3 separate regions of the Homo sapiens genome follow, and regions 2 and 3 are each linked to region 1. Evidence: promoter capture Hi-C in 16 types of primary human blood cells and fetal thymus (Javierre and others, 2016). All regions are on one chromosome and are shown on one strand. Each heading gives the region's core, a stretch centred on a gene start or on the middle of the fragment in contact. The rest is flanking DNA. Distances are from core to core; before and after follow the strand shown.

The links. Contacts are between HindIII fragments. The CHiCAGO score rates a contact against its expected background, and 5 or more counts as called.
Region 2: a fragment that was not itself captured here is called in contact with the fragment with the promoter of DHX36 in region 1 in 1 of 17 cell types (fetal thymus); the score reaches 5.1 in fetal thymus.
Region 3: a contact is called between a fragment that was not itself captured here and the fragment with the promoter of DHX36 in region 1, in 1 of 17 cell types (naive CD4 T cells). The highest score is 5.3, in naive CD4 T cells.

The regions. Positions count from the first base shown.
Region 1 is chr3:154,323,166-154,326,033 of GRCh38, reverse strand. It overlaps DHX36 (DEAH-box helicase 36), which reads left to right and starts at 1,547. Exons shown (of 25, transcript NM_020865.3): 1 at 1,547-1,860. The coding sequence starts at 1,618. RefSeq lists an enhancer at 1,360-1,654. The HindIII fragment of the contact is 15,842 bases long and covers 1-2,868 here.
Region 2 is chr3:155,552,396-155,555,254 of GRCh38, reverse strand. PLCH1 (phospholipase C eta 1) reads left to right here. Exons shown (of 23, transcript NM_014996.4): 9 at 1,059-1,179. Among named protein-coding and RNA genes, the nearest start is that of PLCH1-AS2, 68 kb to the right of the region's middle. The HindIII fragment of the contact is 8,542 bases long and covers 1-2,859 here.
Region 3 is chr3:155,724,106-155,727,171 of GRCh38, reverse strand. All of the region lies in intron 1 of PLCH1 (phospholipase C eta 1), which reads left to right. Among named protein-coding and RNA genes, the nearest start is that of PLCH1, 19 kb to the left of the region's middle. The HindIII fragment of the contact is 1,428 bases long and covers 710-2,137 here.

The sequences.
Region 1 (2,868 bases), core at 298-2,797:
AAGTGGCACATAAGTTTTCCATAATCAGACCCCTATCTACCTCTTTGGCCTTCCCCATCAGGCTTTAAGATTCAGGGTAGTTGTTTTAAGTTCTCCGATGTCTCACATCATTATCTGTCTTTACACATTGTTCCTTTCACCTGCCATACTTTTCTTCTGCCCATTAGTCTGGCAAAAGTCTACTTATCTCAAAAGTTGTTGCATAACTCACCTAACTCCAAAATTAAATTCTTTTGCTGTAGTATCTCTTGGCTCTTAGGGAGGAAATACTTTTTGTCTACTTTCTTAGATTCAGTGTTTGCAGGCCCCAGACTTAAAGTGACAAAACAGATTAGCAAAAGAAAAGACAGACTTAACCACATACATAATAGAGTTCACAGAAAAAGGTGATTCAGGGAGGTAGAGTTCTGACTTATCTACCATCTTATAAAGGGAAGGAAAGGGGAAAACAGCACGTATGGAAAAAACAAATGACTTTTAGTAAAAATAAATGACACCTTAAAACAGATGCCAGATATGATAGCTTTGTGACAATGTCTATTCAAGTGTGTTGCCAGCTTCTAACCTCCAGTGATAAGAGTCAGTCTTCCTGGGTTTCCCTCCCAGGGAGGAGCTTGATTTGAATTCCTCCGTGTGGTTCTGCATTTAGACAGGTAGATTTCAGAAACTCAAATGTCTTTGCTCAAAATAATTTTTAGGCCACAATGGTGTATTGTAGACCCCTTCCTGGCATACAGCATTTCCCTTTCTTAATTCACTGCACAAAGATAGCCTTTGTCTTTCCCTTAAGACTGTAGGCAAATAAAAGCTCATGCCATACTTGCTTTGTTCAGTGAGTATTCCCAGCACCTTTACATCAGTTAACTGTAACATGAGCTGGATATCTCCTGGTGTACATCCAAGCCTGTGTGGCCCAATTACTTGATTATTCAAGAACAGCTTGTACAAAACACTCAGTGTGCTGGTTAATAAACAGTATGTGGCTTCATATGAACACATGAATCTTCAAAGTAGTTTATTTACATTGCCTAAGAGCTCTGCACCGAATTTGGGTAGACACGCTCATCTTAACACTATTGGATAAACGTACTAAATAGTGACAACACTTTCAAGGAGGTAAGGGGATTTTAAATTACATATTTGAATAGTTGTCAGGCTGTTTTCAAGACTAGAAGAACTCATTTTTTAGAGACTTTTCTTTAGAAGACGGCGAATTGATCCAAGGGTTCTTTTGTTTCAATCAACGTTTACTACCCTAGGACCTAAGTGCAAAAAAACTGCGGATTTACCAGGAATAAGAAAGTAAAAACCAAAAGCTATTGGCTCACTTGCTGGGCCTAGGGAAAGAAAATCTACGAGCCTTTGGCTGGCTGTTGCTCCAGAGGTACAAAGATAAACAACTCGGGGGCTCAGACAGAACCTGATCCCTGCCACCCTCCAGACCACCGGGGTCGTCCTCCCGTGACGTCACCAGAAACCACTGCTTGTGACGCTAAATGGCCCGCCCTCTTGTGCGGTGCTACGGAAGCAAAACGGAAGTGGGCGCACAGTGGCTTCCGGGCCCGGACGCCATTTCCAGCGGTTGCTGGTTCTGACGGGTTGTAGTCTGCCAGGACAATGAGTTATGACTACCATCAGAACTGGGGCCGTGATGGGGGTCCCCGCAGCTCCGGTGGGGGCTATGGAGGGGGGCCAGCAGGGGGTCATGGAGGTAACCGAGGCTCCGGAGGAGGCGGCGGCGGCGGAGGGGGTGGTCGAGGCGGCAGGGGCCGGCATCCCGGGCACCTGAAAGGCCGCGAAATCGGCATGTGGTACGCGAAAAAACAGGGGCAGAAGAACAAGGAAGCGGAGAGGCAAGAGGTAATCTCGGATTCAGTAGTGGAGAGGATGAGGCAGCACAGGTTTTCTTCTCTCTCCCGCTGCCCCCTTTTTCTTGGTTTTGTTTCTTAAGTGATGCACGTGTTTTGTGAAATGTAAATGAGGCGCAAATATATTATGCTGGCGCTCCCCGTAGCGGGTGTACTGCGTAACATTAGCCATGCTCATCTGACCAAAAACAGGCAGGATTTATGCAGGCTGAATATATACTTTGCTTAAAGGACTTGAGAACTGTGACAAAGCAAATGTTAAGTTCACGTTCCAACCGAAATTAACTTTATTAGGAGTGTCGTTGTCGTATCTCTGGCCGTCCTTTCCCTTAGAATAATAATTGTCACTTTAAGGTCTTTGCCTGGTGAAGAAGCACATAGCGACCTTTCTACATTTGAGATAGGTTTGCGCGGAACAAAAGCAGGCAGACACTGTTTTGGATGTGGATCATTCAGAAAAATAGTCCAGCTTTTATTATTAGTGTTAAAATTATCTGCAAACCTAGGTTTTTGTTTTTTATGTTGGGGTGGAGAAATTTCTATTGATGAGCAGATTCTCTTTGAAAAGGAAAATGAAAGGAATCTCCAGAGATGATTTGGCTTACTCTCCTCTCTTCAGGTGATTGTCAGGTTGATTTGTGTCTTAAAGATCTGTAGTAAGGGAAACAAAGTTCTCCGAGTGACTAGTAAATAAAATTCTAATAAAAAATAATTTTTATCATTAAGCAGGAACTTTCTTAGTATAGGCCTTTGGTGACTTTTTAAAAGCACCTTATAAAATGTATTATAGAGTGTAATTAGATCATCATTTAGGCAACTTTTTTTTTTTTTAAGACAGGGTCTCACTCTGTCGCCCAGGCTGGAGTGCAGTGGCACGATCTTAGCTCACTGCAACCTCCGCCTCCCAAGTTCAAGCGATTCTCCTGCTTCAGCCTCCCGAGTAGCTGGGATTACAGGCGTCCGCCACCACCTCCGGCTAATTTTTGTATTTTTAGTAGAG
Region 2 (2,859 bases), core at 127-2,626, 1.2 Mb before region 1:
AAGAAACAGGGTTAGTGAATGATTAGCCAGGCTCTAGCACAAGAGACAGGGGCGTTGGAGGTAAGCACGCAAGAGCTATTGTATGAGGTAAGATATTTATTAATCCATTTAGCATATATTTACAGACTACTTACTTCTCTGTGTTGGATGCTGTGCTATGCACCAAGTAGGCTTTTGAGCAAAGGAGCAATGAGGTGAAAGTAGTGTTTTGAGGAATTAGCCTGGGGGCAAAATATAAAAACAAGAGAAAGCAAATTCTTAGTCAGAGGGGCATGGTGAAAAACCTACTGTCTTTCTCCAGCTGAGAGCTAATGAGATTGTGTGGGTAGAGAGCAATATTAATAGTATCAATAACAATCATAGTTACTATATGCCATGCAGTGTTACAAGCTACTTTACATATATTTAACTGTCACTCAAATTTATGATGTAAGTGCTATTACTCTCCTTTTCTAGATGGGGAAAACAAGTCTTCAAATGATTAAGTTATTTGCCCAAATTCACATAAATCTTGGCAGCGCTCGAGGATTTGAACTTAGGAAGTTGATGTTATTTTATAACTACTGTAGTATTAATGAAATGAAAATCAATCTAATGAAAACATTGTGAGCCTAAGTGAACAATAATGAAAACTATATTATTGATTTGGGAAGGACACTGTGACTTTCTAAAAGACCTTCATAACCTGAAGAAGAAGAAGAAGAAGAAGTGAAATTGGGTAAATGACCTTTCAAGAAATCTCCCTATCCTTGGGCACACTTGACTGGATTTAGATAAGTTCTAATGAGTTTTTGGTGAATTCTGAGCTGTTTAAGAATATGACATCTTTTTAACCACACTCAAAACCAAATCATTGTGTCTTGAGGAAAAGCAATTCTTTAATTCCTTGTTCTGATAAATATGCCAGAACACCGATTTCTGTGTCTGTGTCACGTCTTTGTCAGGATTGAAATGGGTATAATTTCAGATAATGGACTTAATATGTGTCTGGTATTTCCAGAAATATTAATAAACACCAGAGACTTTGGGTTGTTGATATAAAGTTCTGTTTTTGGCAGTTGACTGTTGGGATGGCCCAGATGGAGAGCCAGTAGTACATCATGGTTACACTCTCACTTCAAAAATTCTCTTCAGAGATGTTGTGGAGACCATCAACAAGCATGCCTTTGTGAAGAATGAGTAAGTAAAGCAGCACCTGTGAGCTAAGCGGTAGCCTCCCGCATGGAGCATTGCCTGATGTAACGTAGCTACAAAACCACATCCTCTTCCTTGGACTCTACACTGCCCTCTTTGCTAGACTAGTTTTCTCCCTCCTTCTCAGCAAAACATTGTGAACAAATAATGTGGCCTTCCCGTTTGTACTTTCTCATGCTGCATTTATTCCTTGTCCCATTCTTTCTCAATATGCCTCCTTAAAGACATTCTTGCAAATAGTGACCTCTAAATTTCTAAATCCAGGGTGTAGAGTGTCCATAAAATCTGGAAACATAGGTTACTGTGTACATAATTAGTGGGTTCTGATCATGATGGATGTCTTATCTATACACTGAGGTGTCTGGAGTCCTTATGTTACTTGACCCTCTCCTTGTCATTTGACAGTGTTGAATATTTCCTCCCCACTACTTGCCTTTTTTGGTTTCCATTATATCATTCTCCCCTCCATTGCTCTCGTTGCTTCTCAATCTCTTTTTTTTGTACTGCAGTCTTCTGTTAATCTATTTCCTCATTCCTCTAATGGTTAACTGTTTTCTAAGGTTTTGCCCTAGATCACTTTCTGGATATTTATCAAATTCTATGTCCAGAACTTTCCCCTCAAGTTCTAGGCCCATGTTGAAACATACTCAGTGAGGCCGGGCACGGTGGCTCCTGTAGCACTTTGGGAGGCTGAGGAGGGTGGATCACGTGAGGCCAGGAGTTTGAGACCAGCCTGGTCAACATGGCGAAGCCCTGTCTCTACTAAAAAAATACAAGTATTAGGTGGATGTAGTGGTACACATCTGTAATCCCAGCTACTTGGGAGGCTGAGGCATGAGATTTGCTTGAACCCAGAAGGTGGAGGTTGTAGTGAGCTGAGATTGCACCACTGCACTCCAGCCTGGGTGACAGAGTGAGACTCCATCTCAGAAAAATAAAAATAAAAATAAAAATCCTCAGTGAATATTCATCTGAGTATCCCATAGGTGTGGGGAGCCACAACAGTGAGCAGAAGATAAGACTCCTGCCATTAAGGAGCTTACTCCCCAAGGGGAACTCAGCATCTCATTCTGCCAAACTTCCTCTTGATTCTCGCTCCATTTCCTCTTATTAATAGTTAGGGGCAGCACTGGCCTCAGCCAGAAACTGGGAGTCATTCTAGACTCAACCAATTCTTGGCAATTCTACTTCCCAAGTTATCTTTTGACTCCATTGCCTCCTGTTCATTTTTATTTCCCCTTTGGTTCATCCTCAACACTGGTGCTATAATTTTCTTTCTGAAATATGAGCATGGTGATTCAATTCTTGTCTTAAAGCCTGTCAGAAGCTCTCTCAATACACAGGCATGTCTTCATATCCCTTAAGGTCTGGCATCTCCCTTGTCTTCCACTATCATCTTCCACCATTATTCCACAGAGATTTAGGATTCTGCCTTCAATGACTGTCTTTCAGCTTCCCTATTGAGCCTGGCTCTTTCTCAACTCCCCACTCTTACGTATGCTGTTCTCTCTGCCTGGAACAACCTTCCCCGTTAGTCTATCTGATTAATTGTTGCTTATTCTACAAGGCCGTTTAAGTATTGTCCCTCCAACAAGTTACTAATACCACCAGCTGATTTAAATCTTCTTTTTCTCCATATTTTCTCTGTATTTAGCACCCTGCACA
Region 3 (3,066 bases), core at 174-2,673, 1.4 Mb before region 1:
TTTATTTTTTTATTTTTATTTTTCCAAGCTCATTTAAAAAATAACCAAATACAACTTGAAAAAATAAAAATGTAATAATTAAAAATAAGAGAGTGAATGAATTTATGAATAGGTAAATCCAAGCTGCATAGAAAATTAATCAAAAGAATTTGAGCCGGGCGCAGTGGCTCACGCCTGTATTCCCAGCACTTTGAGAGGCTGAGGCAGGTGGCTTACAGTGTCAGGAGTTCGAGACCATCCTGGCCAACGTGGTGAAACCGTGTCTCTACTAAAAATACAAAAAAAAAAAAAAAGAAAAAAGAAAAAAAATTAGCCGGGTGGGATGGCGCGTGCCTGTAATCCCAGCTACTCAGGAGGCTGAGGCAGGAGAATCACTTGAACCTGGGAGGCAGAGGTTGCAGTGAGCCAAGATCACACCACTGCACTCCAGCCTGGGCAACAGGGTGAAGACCCCGTCTCAAAAAAAAAAAAAAAGAATCTGAACAAAATTTTAATTATTGCTACAGAAAAAGAAGAGAGGAAAGAAAATTGGAAAAGGCAACATTTAAAGAGATAATGGCTGAGAATTTTCAAGGATCAATAAAAAGCATCACTTGACATATTGATGAAGTCATATGAATTCCAGACAGAGTAAGTAAAAAGAAATCCACACATAGACAAAATATAATTAAACTGCAGAACACAAAAGATAAAGAGAGGATCTTAAGCTTAGCTTCAAAGACATGACAAATTATCCTGACAATGTAACAATAGAAGCCAGAAGACAATAGAATATTATCTTTCATGTACTGTGGGAAATTAACTGTCACCCTAGGATTCTATTTTCATTAAAAAACAATCTTTAAAAAACAGGGACACAATAAAGGCCTTTCAGATGCACAAAAACCTAAAGAATTTGTTCCAGCAGATCTTCACTAAAAGAGTAACACTTGAGGTAGAAGAAAATTATTTCCAGATAAAGGATCTTAAAAACAAGAAATAATGAAGACCAAAGAAAGTTTAAGTTAAAACACGTATTGACTATATAAGGTAATAATGATATATTCAGTGGGAACTAGTAACATAAGTTGGAGAAGCAAAAGGAGTTAATGTGCTCTAAAATTCTTGTATAGTTTGGGAAGAGATTAGAGATAATGATTATTGAGACTTCGATAAGCAAAGTATGCATGTTAAAATGTCTAGGGCAACTACTAAAAATTAGGAAAATAATGGATAACTTCCTAGCTAATGGAGAAAAATTAAATGAGAAAAATAACCTCAAGGAAATCAAGGGAGCTGAGAAAAAAGTAGAGAATAGGCAAGACAAATAGCAAGCACAAAATATGATGTTGAAATAAATTCCATTGTATCACTAATCATAATCTAAAGGAACCAAAGATTGTTAGAGTGGATGAAGAATTCAGCTATATGCTACTTATAACAGAAATGTCCAGGCTGGGAGTGATGTCTCATGCCTGTAATCCCTGTACTTTGGGAGGCTGAGGCGGGCAGATCACCTGAGGTCAGGAGTTCAAGACCAGCCCGGCCAACGTGGTGAAACCCCGTCTCTACTAAAAATACAAAAATTAGCCGGGCATGCATCTGTAATCCCAGCTACTCTGGAGGATGAGGTAGGAGAATTGCTTGAACGTGGGAGGTGGAGGTTGCAGTGAGCTGAGATCGCACTATCGTACTCCAGCCTGGGGGACAGAGTGAGACTCTGTCTCAAAAAAAAAAAAAAGTGTCTAAAATATAAGGATACAGAATGTTTAAAAGTAAAATAATAGAAAGGGAAATAGGTGACTAAAAACCAAAAGAAGCTGGCAATTTTGACATAAGACAAAATAGGCTTTAAATTGCAAAAAGCATTTTTAGAGATAAAGAGGGTCAATTGGTTAAAAAGTCTCAACTTATCAGAAAGATAAAATACTTACATATGCATCTTCAGGTAGCCTATAAAGAAAAGCCTATCAGATTAACAGTAGATTTCTCAGCAGAAACCCTATAAACTAGAAGGGATTGGGGTCAAAGCCTATCAGATTAACAGCAGATTTGTCAGCAGAAACCCTATAAGCTAGAAGGGATTGGGGTCCTATCTTTAGCCTCCTTAAACAAAACAATTATCAGGCAAGAATTTTGTATCCAGCAAAACTAAGCTTCATAAATGAAGGAAAGATACAGTCTTTTTCAGACAAACAAATGCTGAGAAAATTCACAACTACTAAGCCTGCACAGTAAGAACTGCTAAAAGGAGCTCTAAATTTTGAAACAAATCCTTGAAATACAGCAAAACAGAACCTTCTTAAAGCATAAATCTCACAGGACATATATAACAATTACACACACACACACACACACACACACACACACACACACACAAAACCCCCCAAGGTATTCAGGCAACAAATACCATGATGAATAGAATAGTACCTCACATCTCAATACTAACATTGAATGTAAATGGCCTAAATGCTCCACTTAAAATATACAGAATGGCAGAATGATAAGAATTCACAAACTAACTATCCCCTGCCTTCAAGAGACTCACCTAACACAGAACGACTCACATAAACTTAAGGTAAAGGGGTGAAAAAAGATATTCTATGCAAATGGACACCAAAAGCAAGCAAGAGTAGCTACTGTTATATCAGATAAAACAAACTTTAAAGCAACAGCAGTTAAAAAAGACAAAGAGGGACATTATACAATGATAAAAGAATTAGTCCAACAGGAAAATGTCACAATTCTAAATATATATGCACCTGACACTGGAGCTCCCAAATTTATAAAACAATTACTACTAGACCTAAGAAATAAGGTAGATGGCAACACAATAATAATGGAGGACTGTAATACTCCACTGACAGCACCTAGACAGGTCATTAAGACAGAAAGTCAACAACAAAAAGATGGACTTAGAACAAACAGACTTAACAGAACAAACAGACTTAACAGATATTTACAGAATATTCTTCCCAATAACTGGAGAATATACTCAGCACATAGGACATTCTTTAAGATAAACCATATAATAGGCCACAAAATAAGTCTCAACAAATTTAAGAAAATTGAAATTATAGCAAGTAG